4 separate regions of the Homo sapiens genome follow, and regions 1, 3 and 4 are each linked to region 2. Evidence: promoter capture Hi-C in 16 types of primary human blood cells and fetal thymus (Javierre and others, 2016). All regions are on one chromosome and are shown on one strand. The core of a region is centred on a gene start or on the middle of the fragment in contact, and the rest is flanking DNA. Distances in the headings are between cores, read along the strand shown.

Region 1 (3,170 bases), core at 663-3,162, 220 kb before region 2:
AGGTCACAGAATGGCCATCTCTTTAAATCAAACTTTGCAGCTACTGTCCAAATTTGGACGAGCATCACCAAAAATTCACTATCCAAGGTTCAGCATGGATTATATACCAAGTGTCTGATTGGCCCTGCCTTAAAAGGAAACATTCCATTTTCTTAGTGTCCATTTTATCTGCTACAAAAATGATTACTTTATAAATGCTATAAAAAACTCAATACATAGCATTTGTACTAGGAGACAGGCACTTACTATACTAATAAATCTCAACACCTTTCCTGGTACTACCCCCTCTGCCTAGAGTGATTCCTCTCATATTTACACTAACCTTTCCAATGCCTAGATCAGTGGTCACCACCTTGGAGCCCTTCTACACCTTGTAAATCAGATATAATCACCCTATGCTTAGAAATCTATTATTTTTAAATACCTATGTTTTTGTACCCGCCCATACTGCTTATGACATACATATATGATGGCAACATAGAAGTATATTTAAGAGCCCAGCTTTTAGTTTATACTATGTACCAAGTTGGACTCTACCATTTATTTGTAGTTAACACCCTGACTGGCAGATCATTCTTAAGACTCAGTTTCTTCAAGGAAGAGAAAGATAGTAATAGTTAACCTCATAAGTTTGTCAGAAGAATTAAATACATGAAATACTAAATCTGGCAAACAGGCAATAAACAAACACTAGCTAATATTTTTATTCCTGCTACAAGTATCCTGCTTTGAGTGTAAACTCTTTGTATTGGAGATTACAGATTATGTATTTGGTGACCCCACAGCATCTAGGCCAATGTCTTGTACATAATAGGTATTCAGAAGGCATTTTAAAAATCAAACTAAGTAAAAAATTCTAAACAAACAATATTTGTTGGGCTTTTCTACTGTGAAGACACAGTGAGAAATGAAAAAAAAAAAATTCCTGACCTTTAGGTCATTAAATGCTTAATCTAGTTAAAAAGCTTAGTCTAGCTAAGGGGTAGTCTTTAAATGCTTAGTCTGGTTATATACACACGTACACATATATACAAACAAATATATACACCAACATCTACACACACACACACCATATACACACACACATATCTATGTATACAGAGAGAGAGAGAGAGATGTATTTTCCTGCCCACACTCACAAAACTAAGTGAAAAGAACCAAGGAACCAGCTCAAAAGGGAATGCAGACTTGGCAAACACAATTATAAGTAAAACTTAAAACATACTTTTTCTTTTTTTCCCCAAATATTCCTCCTTTTGTAACTCCTCTTCTTACTCCTACTCAAATCTTTGTTTCCATGGCAATATTTCTACCTTGAAGTTCCACCACTGAAATGTCTACAACTATGTCTACTGCTCTCTCTTTTAAATTGCTACTAGAAAATTCAATCCTCCAGTCCATGATGTAGATGGACTACATAAATGCCTACTAACTTAAGGCACATTTCTCACCTCATCCCCCAGTACTATACAAGATATTTTTTTTACACAGAACTATTTTAGGCCGATTTTTATACTTGATAAAAAATAAACTCCAAGAATTTCAGACTCTGTGATGTGAGCTAGATATAACCCAAACTCATTGAGACTCAAGCTCTTTACCCAATACAAAGACAACATTTAGAGAGCTACTTAACAATCAAAACTAGAAAATAAGAAAGGATGCCAGTAACAGAATTATCCAACAAGGACTTATTTCTTACCACCTGATCTTGAGTTTGGCTAGACACTGGATTTCTCCTGCCAGAACCCCAGAAGTGTTAAGAGAACCCTAACTGCTATTGTGAGGTTTGAACTGATGAACTCTAAACCGTGCTGCTATTAGACTCTTTAATGTTGCTCGGTTTACTCTTAATTCCTGTTTTGAGTTGTGCTGCCAAAGTTCTGAAGACCTGAAACATGTCATTACCTCTGAATTGAGTTAGTTTGACTACTCTGAAAACCAGTCTGATTCTGGAGAATCCCTGCCAAATGCCACAAGCTAAACGGGTACCCTGGAATCAAACTGTTGGTACTAACTCAAAGAGCACATCTGCTCCTGAGCTTCTGGGAACAAATGGGAGAACTTGTAACTACCCAGGAGCACTGTCCACATCCACAGAGGCCCCCAGATACTTAAAGATTATTTTTAGGAAATCTTGAAGTTCACAGAAAATTCATTGATTTAGTTCAGCTGTTCCTTCAAGAATTCTAACAAGGGAGCTCCTAAAGTGTCACCCAGGATTTACCATGAAAATTCCTAGAATGGTTATCCATAAGTTGAATCAATGCCCTAGAAAATTTGCTAACCCCATGACAGAGGAGTTCTGACTCCTATAACAAAACCTAACAGTAACTAATCCAAAACAACTGCCTTTTATGATGCTGCTAGACTGCACAGAGACAACCTGGATTTTCTCCATTAATCCTGCTGCTGATCTTGATACAGGAAAGAACACTGTCTTTCTCTAAATCCTAAATCTAGAATAGATAGAAAACAAAATGAATCCACAGTAATTTTTTTTAAAAAAAGGTCTAAATTCCCTCAACAATTAAGTCCAAATTAAAATTGGCTACATCACTGTACAGTTTGCCCTAACGGGTAAATAATGCTGTTTATTGTTGCATTTCACTCGTCTCCAATTCCCAACTATATCATTAACATTGCACGCCATATTGTTGTGAATCAATCCTCTAATTTCATTTGAATGCATCCAGAAATCTGGATATTGTAATCAATATATTACAAAAAGCAACATAACTTCATAAGGATTTGCAACATGTTCATTCCTCATGTGAGGTGTTCTAGTACATCAGGGTTGCCCTGCAACCCACTTGGAGATTATATCCTTAGATTCTGAACCCTTAACTGAGAAATATCGAAGCTTATTGCTACTATTATTTCTTTATTATAAATTTTTCTCCCCTGAATTTTCTCAACTTATAGAAAGGAAGTCCGGCCAGCAGCATTAGTTACCCCGCATTCCACTGAGAGAATTTGCTGTCGGGACATCCACTCCCTCTCCGTTCGGGTGCTCTACTGTTAGCATCTTTTCTCCTTCAAATTCAGAAAGATGCAAACTAGCTTGAAAAGCCTGTTCTAAACAATACTGCACAGCAGTGCCAATACTATGAGATGTAACTGGTGCTTGTGCATGCAAATTAATTTAAGTATAAACATACTTCATGTAT
Region 2 (3,291 bases), core at 689-3,188:
TAAAATATCAGAGTGCTCGCCGAGAATTCCATTAGCCAGTGGAATTATCTAAAACAATCCATACAGAACGACACTTTAGCCATCTATACAGTTAAATTAGAGTGCTGACAATACTAACTACGCAAACTGTTTATCCAGATTACACATTCCGTTGTATTAATACTCTTTAACTCAACACAGTCAGCTTTTATCAGCTGAAATAAGACTATTACTATTAAAGTATGCAAAACTCGAAGCGCAGGGTGAAGGGGGTTGGGAAGCTGCAGGGCATATAACAAAGGAATTGGTACTTTTTCCAAGCATTTGCCTCAAATGCACTGCGAAACAAAACTGTTGAGTGCACCCCACCCTTTTCCCCAAAGATAAAAGTTTTCAAAGTTCTTGCAGACAGCTCGCTACCCAACAAAAGCAGGACTGATTCTCCCCGTAGGGGAGCATCTAACGTGAACACCAACTAATGTCGCGGAGGTCAAGTCTGAACCCTCAGAGTGAGCTTCTGAGGCAAGAAGTGGCTCCCAGGCCGGCTCTGCGGGTTCCCGGCCCGGGTGGACGTACAAAGTTGCCCCTTGTCAACTCCGGCCAGGTCCCCCGTAATTGAAAATAACAGCCACCGGCCAGCCCCTGGCTACTTGCATGGACCAGGCACTGTAGCAAGTGACAGTTACACATCATTACGACCAGAGACAATAATGAATGTAGCACCAGGAGCACTATTCATGCCAGCAGTGTCATCTCCGCCTTAACCCCTTCCCCTCCACTCTCTCCAGCGCGCACACACAGCCCACACGGTCCCGGTGCGGAGCTATTCATCCACCCCGCTCGAGGCCGGGGGGCCAACTACTTCCACGAGCCCCCCCTCCCCCCCAAGTTCAGCCCTGGGGTTTTATTTCACATCCTTGGCAACTGTCAGGCAAACACTGCAACCAACAATTCCACTAGGGGTAGAAAAACACTTGCTTAATTCACGTTACTTGATAACTTCTTCTGGAAAAAAAAAATTAGGGGAGGTGGGGAAGAAACCTCCTTCTTTCTTCTCCACGAATCCGACCGACGCTACTTGCTTTGCAACAGCATCGCCCTTCCCCGGCCCCCTCCCGCTTCCCAGCACTTTCCCCCTTTAAGAACACAGACCAACCAAAATGATTTAACTTGAGCAGATGACAGAAGGAAAATAAAACACGTTAAGAGAATACGGTCTGATTTGGGATGGCAAAAAAAAAAAAAAAAGAGGAGGGGGTTGTTTATTTTGATAAGAAACGGAATCGGCACAGACCTGAACAGAAGCTGCAGAGCAGGAGAAATTGTTTTCTTTCCCTCACACAGAGTCCCCCTCTCTCTCTCCCTTTCTCTCTCTCACACGCGCGCGCGCACACACACACACACACTCGCACACACACGGCGTCACCCGCGCACACGCACACGCAGAGCCTCTCAGCGGCTCTCTGCAGTTCTCAGGAAATGAATGGGGGGCAACCCGGGGAACTGTTGTACTTGCAAATGACTTACCCGGATCACATGATGCGCTAAATGTAGGGTGGGCCGGTGGGTGGAGGCTGCCGAGTTGCGAGCCCCGGTCTAGTGTGGGGAGCCTCGCCAGGCCCGCATCGAATTACCCCGGGGCCCAGCCGAGGGGGTTGCAGGACGCCGCTTCTCCTCCCTCGCAGCCCGCAGCTCAGGAAACCGGAGAGGCGCTTGGGGTGGGGTGGGGTGGGGTGCTGTGAGGGGGGGGGCCGAAAACAAGAAACCCCCAAACAAAAGAGCTCCGGGTCCTCCTCCCCAGAAACAAAGCCCCGCCGCTGCCGGCGAGCCCCGGGGTGGGGCCGAGGGCGGGGGCGGCGGCGGGGAGGGGCTCGCTCAGCAGGCGCTAAGTCGCTTTATTGCCATAAAATGGGGCCCCCGAGCCGCTCCGCCCGAGGATTAGGAGGCGGGCTCTGAGTGTGATGGTTGAAATCCCCTGTGGGAAACTAACCCCTCCCCGCTCGCAGAGGTAGAAGGCAACACCCACTGCCCGGCCCTCGCCTCCCCGCCCGGACCGCCGGGCTGGGTCCGCGGCGCCTCCACCCCGCCCCACCCCGCCCCACCCCTGCCCCCGCCCTCCGGCCCCGGGCCTCGGCAGCGCTTCCCTTTCACCTGCACCACTTTGCTGCGGCACCCCAAATAACCCACACATGGCCCTGGGAGCTCGGGGAGTCGTCGGCCGAGGGGGCCCGCGGGGGCTTGCGGCGGGAGGGACCCCTGGAGAGCAACTCGCTGGGCAAGGACTCGCGCCGAGCCGCGAGAAAGTCTCCTCTTTTGTGTCAGAGCGCGCCAGACAGGCTTAGGAGAATTCGGGGACCCAAAAAGCGTGCAGCCCGCTTGGGCCCCCACCCCTCGCCGCACCCGCCCGGGTGGGGGCGCGCAGTGGAGGGAGGGGGCTGTCGCCCGGGTCGTCCCCGCGGCTCGCCCGCCAGCGAACTTGGAAAGGTGTGGGCGGAGCCGGCCGGGACTGTGGGGCAGCTCGCGGGGACCGCCCCTGGGCGCCGGGCATCGCCCGCGCCGGGCAACAATGGGGTCAGGCAGGGGCAGCCCCGCGGGCGGTGCCCCCCGCGCGCCGGTGGGGCGGGCGGAGGGCCGGGCGCGGCAGGCAGGGGAGTCATTGTTTGGGTTCCGGAGCGACGCACGTTGCGGGCGAAGCGGGGGCGCCCCTTTTCCCTGCGCTTCACCTTGGCGGGATGAATGGGGGCGAGGCGGAGATGCGCGCCTGGCCTCGCCACCCCAGCGAAGGGGCCCCTGCCTGCGCCAGTTCTGTGGGAAAGCACGCAAACTTGGAGGACTGGGGCAGAGGAAGCGGGATCTGCAGACCCCCGCGGGGCCCGGGGGCGGCGGGGAAGGGAGTCCAGCTCCACTGCCCCACGCCCAGAGCGGAGCCCCAAGAAGCGGACGGCCCGGAGCCGAGTCCTTGACGCTCTCCCCGGCAGCCCCTCCCTCCCCGCCTCCGCGCCCCGGGGAGCGGATCCGCGGGATTGTGGGGCGGGAGAGGGAGGAGGCGGCCGGGCGGCCCTGCAGTTCCCGCGGCGGCTCGGAGGGCGCGGGGTCAGCGCCGAGCCGGAGGGTCGGCGGGGGCGGGGAGCAGACGGGGCGGAAGCGGCCGGGCGGGCGGGGCGCGCGGCGGACGGAGGCGGGAGGCTGTGGGCCCGCCTCCTCACCATCCTAGGTGAGCGCGGCGCTCCGGGCACGACAGTATTCCCCTGCCCCGCGCCCCCGGCCCGGCCCGCCCCGCGTGGGAAATCGCCAGGGCTGTGGGAAGGCCGG
Region 3 (3,119 bases), core at 153-2,652, 150 kb after region 2:
TCCACAGTGTCCTCCAAACAGCCAAGGACACATATTAAATCCTCGTGGTTGTTCCTTAAAAACCCCCTCTTTTGACTTGAGGCAGAGAGTGAGGACCACATTGCGCTCCAATAGCTGTCTCCAAAAATCCTCCTCAATCTCCACCCGCTGCCTTTTCTCACCTTTTCCTAACTTTTTAAAGGAGGGCTACTATCTCAGAAGCTGCAAAATTAATTTTCTGCCATGGGATATTTTTCAAATCTCATTTTGAAATGTAGCATCTATTAGTTTCAGGCCTCAGCCAAAACAGAGAGAAGATCTTATGTTAATATCCAGTTATAGTGTCACTGTTAAGAACACTAATTAAGGAACTGTTAAGGAATGTTGATTCTCTGGCTCCTCTTATTCAATAAGAAGATACCCCACCACTTTCCATGGTGGGGAGATGACTTTGGCTACTTTTGCCAGGAAGAGGTAATACATCTTTTCCCATGGTTACCCAAGAAGCTCTGGCAGTATCAACTCTAGTGAAACTGGAGACAGCCCGTATCCTTTGACTACATCCATGTACTAGTGGGTCATATTACTCTGCCCAAACAGGTTCTAGACTCATTCTTTCCCTCTTGGACATACCTGTGCTTAAAATCCCCTGGGGGAGAGTCTCTTCCATCACAGCACTGGGATATTAAACCATAATGGGACGTAGGAAGCCCCACTGTGCACTTTAATTTAGTTGATGCTAGACAGCTCTTTCTAAAAGTAATGCATTTGGCTCTGATCTTTGTACTTAGACTCTTGGCCTTCTATCCTGAATGTAAAGTATTTTACATTCTGACTTCTATGACTTCCACCCTAAATGGAAGAAATGTTATGTAACTCCCCAAAACTAACCATGCATATTGGCAAAGTGTGGTTTAACTTTTGGTGGGTAAGAAAAATTTTTTTTTTCTGCACAACAATTTAGTATCTCTCACAATGGTTTGAAATAAACAGAAATTTTGTTCATTTTTTTTTTTTTTAGTCATAAGTGCTCTTTGAGGAATATATTAAGGGCTAAACTTAATTCAGCACAGTAAAGTGTTGAACTGAATCAGCATGTTAAGCACAGTAATGGGAACATCAGTTCTGTAACCAATGAACAAAATGGTAAAACACATGTCAGTTTTGGAGTTTAGCTTGAACAAAAAACATGTGGTACAGGAAAACACATCAGGTGGTTGTCCCATAGTGGACTCAATAGAAAAAGAGCACGGAGTACATAATGGACATTGTCAAGTGTTGTTAAACTAGTTTGATTTGAGATTTTAAGGACCCTCAAGTTCCATGTTAAAAAGTTTTGACTTATTCTCATGGTTAAAGGGGATCTAAGTCTTGGGCAAATTTATGAGAGAAGGTGAAAGTCTCTAAGAGCAGAGGGATGCACAAGAATGTTATCTTAAGCACAGAGGACCAGAAGTGTTGAATAACTTTGGTCTGGACAATGGGACAAGGAAGAGATTTTAGTAATATTTCTTGTTAGCAGCCTCTGTAGCATATCCTTAGGGTTGCAAATGGGCTTACAAACCTTCCTTTTAAAATTTATCCTGAGTGGTTGGTGAGCATATTAATAATTGTTATCATCTATTAAATTCTATTGTCACATAAATAATTACCAATCCTCACAACAATGCTGCAAGCCAGTCTCATATCTCCTTTACACATTAGGACACAGTTGCTCAGAGAAGTTAAGAAACATGTCCAAGTTTCCAAAAGCATGACTGCAACCTGATATGGTCTAATGATCTTTTTGGGTAGAGTGTAATGACCAGTTTTGTCCTTGCTACACCCAATACAGAAGTCCCTGAAACCACTGGAAACAGGTTAAACAGTCTGTTCCTTAGACTTCTGAGTAAAGGTGTGGTCAGGGAAGTGAGCTTGCCTTATTATCTGATTTACCCTTAAGCCATATAAAAATACACACTGGAAATTTACACATCTATACACAGATTGTTTCTCATGGTGGTGAAAACTGTGCAACTTTGTCAGTAGTCAGGGAGGCTAATGAAAGAGACCCAATGGGGAAACCCATCTTGGGATCAAAACATGATCTCTGGTCACATTCTCTAGTTTTCTGCAAGTTGGTGGTAGAAAGTACCCTCGTGGTGTACCCTTGTGGATGGAGTCAGAGCAGTGAAAGAACCTTTGGTTTTCCACCACCCTGTGAAAATCATAGCAAATACTGTTTCGTGAATTTTTCTATCTACCCTTTTCCCTAACAGATGACGAACTGTATGTAGAAACTACACCATACTCATCTTTTTTTTCTTTTTTCTTTTTTTTTTTTTTTTGCCAAGGACTGTGCCATAAAAACTGGCACAGAAAAAGGGAGGAAAACAAACTCAAGAATATACTAACCTTATCTGGAACCACAATCAGATAGCCACTACTTTTGATATGTCTGATACTCTCTCCCACAACTACTTTACAGTGGGGTGAAAACTATTTGTAATCCATTACTAATGGGTTCTTATGCTTCTCCTAGACTTATAACTCCCATGGTCTTGTATATAATATCTATACTTTGTTGTATTTTATTTTTCTGCACATTTTTCTTTCATCTTCCCCCTTTTAGATCTCATTTTAAAAAGAATGATTTTTAAAACTCTCTTCTCTATTTTTTTTTAAAAAGTATTATCTTAAGACACCCACACACTATTTCTTACCACATTTCATGAGTTGTTCTGGTAGAAATTATACTTGCTGGGAATGTATTGGCCTTCCCTGCTGGGATGATGAAGTAGTTTTGCACTGACTGTCATCAGAGACAAAGGTGAAAGGTTATTCCTGTCCCTCTTTCCCGCAAAACCTTGAGGAGATAAGAATTAAGACTTAAAGAATGTTAAAGTATTTTGGTGTGATAAGTGTGGATGCAAGGCATTTAAAAATTAGATATGGCATGGAGTTATTAATCAAAGAAAACCAGTTCTTAGAGAAATAGGGATAAAGTAAGTACTAGGGTATATATTTTATTGTAAGGTACATTAATTGCTTTCAACTATGTCAAAGCTATAAATACATTTTAAAAATCAGTTAGAATCTAAGTTTAGAAACAGATACACATTTTCTTCTGTCAAGGTAATGGAATAAGGCTATAGAATGAA
Region 4 (2,958 bases), core at 369-2,868, 150 kb before region 2:
TCAGAGGAAACACTAATATAAACCAGGAACTTTGGGTGATAATGATACCTCAAGGTAGGTTACTCACTCAACTGTAATAAACGTATCATCCTGGTGGGGTATGTTGATAATGGGAGAGGCTACATGTGTGTCGGAGCAGAGGCAATTATGGGAAATTTCTACTTACTCTGCTCAACTTTGCTATGAACCTAACATTTCTTTTAAAAACAGTCTGCTTTTAAACACACACACACACACACACACACACACACACACACACACACACAAATCATGGAATACAGCTAATGCTGTCTGGAGAGAAATTTTTTAATTAAAGATTAATTTTCTCAGCAACTAAATTTAGAAGACAAAGAATATGAGAATAAACTCAGAAATTTTAAGAAAAAGACAAAGCTAACAAAATAGAGAAGAAAGATACAATGGAAATAAACAAAAGGAAATGCTTTGGAAAGACTATGAAATTGTCAAATCCTTGGTAATATTTACCAAATGAAAAAATAATGTAAAAGCAATCAATCATTATGAAATAAACTAAATAAAGCACAAGGGGAGACATAAGTACAGATACAGCGAGGTTAAACATATAATAGACTACTGTGAACATTTTTGTTATGGGCTGAATTTTGTCCCTTCAGAAATTCATATGTTGAAGTCCTAACCTGTAGAGCCTCAGAATATTGAGACTCTATTTAGAGATAGGGACTTCAGAAGAGGTAATTATGATAAAATAAGGTCATATGGGTAGATCCTACTTCAATGGCTGGTGTTCTTATAAGAAGAGGAGATTAGGACACAAAGACACACAGAAAAAAAAGACCACGTGAAGGCACAGGGTGAAGACAGCCATTTCCAAGCCAGAGAGGGGGCCTCAGAAAAAAATCCACCCTGCTGAGACCTTATCTTGGACTTCTAGCCCTCAGAAATGTGAGAAAATAAATTTCGGTTGTTTAAGTCATGAAATCTGTGGTACTGTGTTATGCAGCCCTAGCAAACTAGTACAATCTTACCCTAATGCATTTGAAAGCTTACAATAAACCAAATACAATTTATCAAATCTGACTCAAGAAGAAACTGAAAACCTGGTCTTATTACCATTAAAAATTGAATTTTAAGTTCAAATTTTACCCACAAAAAGCCACTCATCCCAGATAAATGGGTTCTACCAAATCCTTAAAGAGTAGATAATTGTTTATGCACATTCTTCCAAAAGATAGAAAAAGATTCTAACATAGCTACCAAAACCCAGTCAGAATATTTTTTTAAAAGTTACAGCCAATCTCACTTATGAAAATAGATGCAAATATCCTATATAAAATATTACTAAACATATCCCAGTGGGATATAAAATTATCATGATGAAGTTGAATAGAAAAAGCATTAAACATATTTATAAATTCAACAAAACTAAATATTAAATCAAAATAAAAAGTAAAAATCTACCATCTCAGAGAAAATAATTTCTATACATTTAATCAATCCTGAATATCTACCCCATCATCCCTACCAAAAAAGATGACCATTCAATAGAAAAATGGTCAAAAGACAAAAATGATTCCAAAGAAGCTGAAGTCCAAATAATCAATAAACATATGAACCATTAATAACAAAATGCAATTAAAACTACAGTGAGACACTATTTAACGCACACCAGATTGAAAAATCTTCAAATGTCAGCAGACACCCACAGTTAGTACGGACGTGGTAAAATGGGACTATTAAACAGTACTATTTAGGAACTGTTGCAGGCTGGGCACAGTGGCTCACACCTGTAATTCCAGCACTCTGAGAGGCCAAGACAGGAGGATCACTTGAGGCCAGAAGTTCGAAACCAGCCTGGGCAACGTGGCAAAACCTTGTCTCTATAAAAAATACAAAAATTAGCCGGGCGTGGTGATGCCTGCCTGAAGTCCCAGCTACTTGGGATATGGAGGCAGGAGGATTGCTTGAGCCAGGGCAGTTGAGGCTACAGTGAGCTGTGTTTGTGTCACTGCACTCCAGCCTGGGAGACAAAGACCCTGTCTCAGAAACAAACAAACAAACAAACAAAAAACTATTGCAACTACATGGGAAAACAATTGGACATTATCCAGGAGAGTTGAAAATTTCTCTACAATCCAGCAATTCTACTTCTGGGTATATATTCCAGAGAAAATCTTCTATATTTGTACCAGGACACATTTAAACGACTCTTCATAGCAGGTTTAAGATAGCAAAAAGCTTAAAAGAATAGGAATGTCCATTGCTGAAAAATGGATAAATTATGGTGTAGTCATAAAATAGAATTCTATTCATTTGTGGAAATAAATAATCTTACCTATACGCATCAATGTGAATGAATATCAAAAACAACAATGTCAAGTAAAAAAAGCAGATCATAAAAATATAAACAGTATGGTACTATTCATATGTCTCAAAACAAACAAAAGTAAATGATACATAGTTTGAACATGTACTTATATATGATGAAAAGAAAGGAAATTATAATACAAAATTCAGGATAAATGGTTATGTGTGAGACTGCTACTGTCTGAATGTGTCCCTCCAAAATTCGTGTTGAATCCTAATCTCCACTGCAGTGGTAATAAGAGGCGGTGCCTTTTAGGAGGTGATTTACGAAGCTGCCTTGTCCCTTCTGCCAAGAGAAAATGCAGCTAAGAGTAACCCCTGGCCAGACACTGAATCTGCTGGAGAGTTCATCTCGGACTTCCCAGCTTCCAAACTCTGAGCAATACATTTCTAGTATTTATAAATTACTCAGTCTAAGGTATTTTGTTACAGCAGCCCAGACAGGCTAAGAAAGGGACTAAAAGGGGTCTTGAAAAAAAATACTGGAAACAATCTACTTTTTTAAGTTAGGTTTCTCTGTTATCATGGCTTACAACTTACACAGTCAATACATATATATTCTTTTTTATCTTTCAAATACTTAATAAATTATCTCCCCTGTGCTTTGTTGAC

The links. Contacts are between HindIII fragments. The CHiCAGO score rates a contact against its expected background, and 5 or more counts as called.
Region 1: a contact is called between a fragment that was not itself captured here and the fragment with the promoter of KLF12 in region 2, in 1 of 17 cell types (non-activated CD4 T cells). The highest score is 5.0, in non-activated CD4 T cells.
Region 3: a fragment that was not itself captured here is called in contact with the fragment with the promoter of KLF12 in region 2 in 2 of 17 cell types (naive CD8 T cells and total CD8 T cells); the score reaches 5.4 in naive CD8 T cells.
Region 4: a fragment that was not itself captured here is called in contact with the fragment with the promoter of KLF12 in region 2 in 1 of 17 cell types (total CD8 T cells); the score reaches 5.3 in total CD8 T cells.

What each region holds. Positions count from the first base shown.
Region 1 is chr13:73,917,024-73,920,193 of GRCh38, forward strand. All of the region lies in intron 3 of KLF12 (KLF transcription factor 12), which reads right to left. Among named protein-coding and RNA genes, the nearest start is that of KLF12, 220 kb to the right of the region's middle. The HindIII fragment of the contact is 1,898 bases long and covers 964-2,861 here.
Region 2 is chr13:74,132,466-74,135,756 of GRCh38, forward strand. KLF12 (KLF transcription factor 12) reads right to left here and starts at 1,939. Exons shown (of 8, transcript NM_001400136.1): 1 at 1,507-1,939. RefSeq lists enhancers at 417-596, 627-676 and a silencer at 1,686-3,291. The HindIII fragment of the contact is 3,671 bases long and covers 1-3,291 here.
Region 3 is chr13:74,278,536-74,281,654 of GRCh38, forward strand. It overlaps a transcript of KLF12 not described here. Among named protein-coding and RNA genes, the nearest start is that of LINC00402, 49 kb to the left of the region's middle. The HindIII fragment of the contact is 8,951 bases long and covers 1-3,119 here.
Region 4 is chr13:73,979,134-73,982,091 of GRCh38, forward strand. All of the region lies in intron 2 of KLF12 (KLF transcription factor 12), which reads right to left. Among named protein-coding and RNA genes, the nearest start is that of KLF12, 150 kb to the right of the region's middle. The HindIII fragment of the contact is 1,193 bases long and covers 1,023-2,215 here.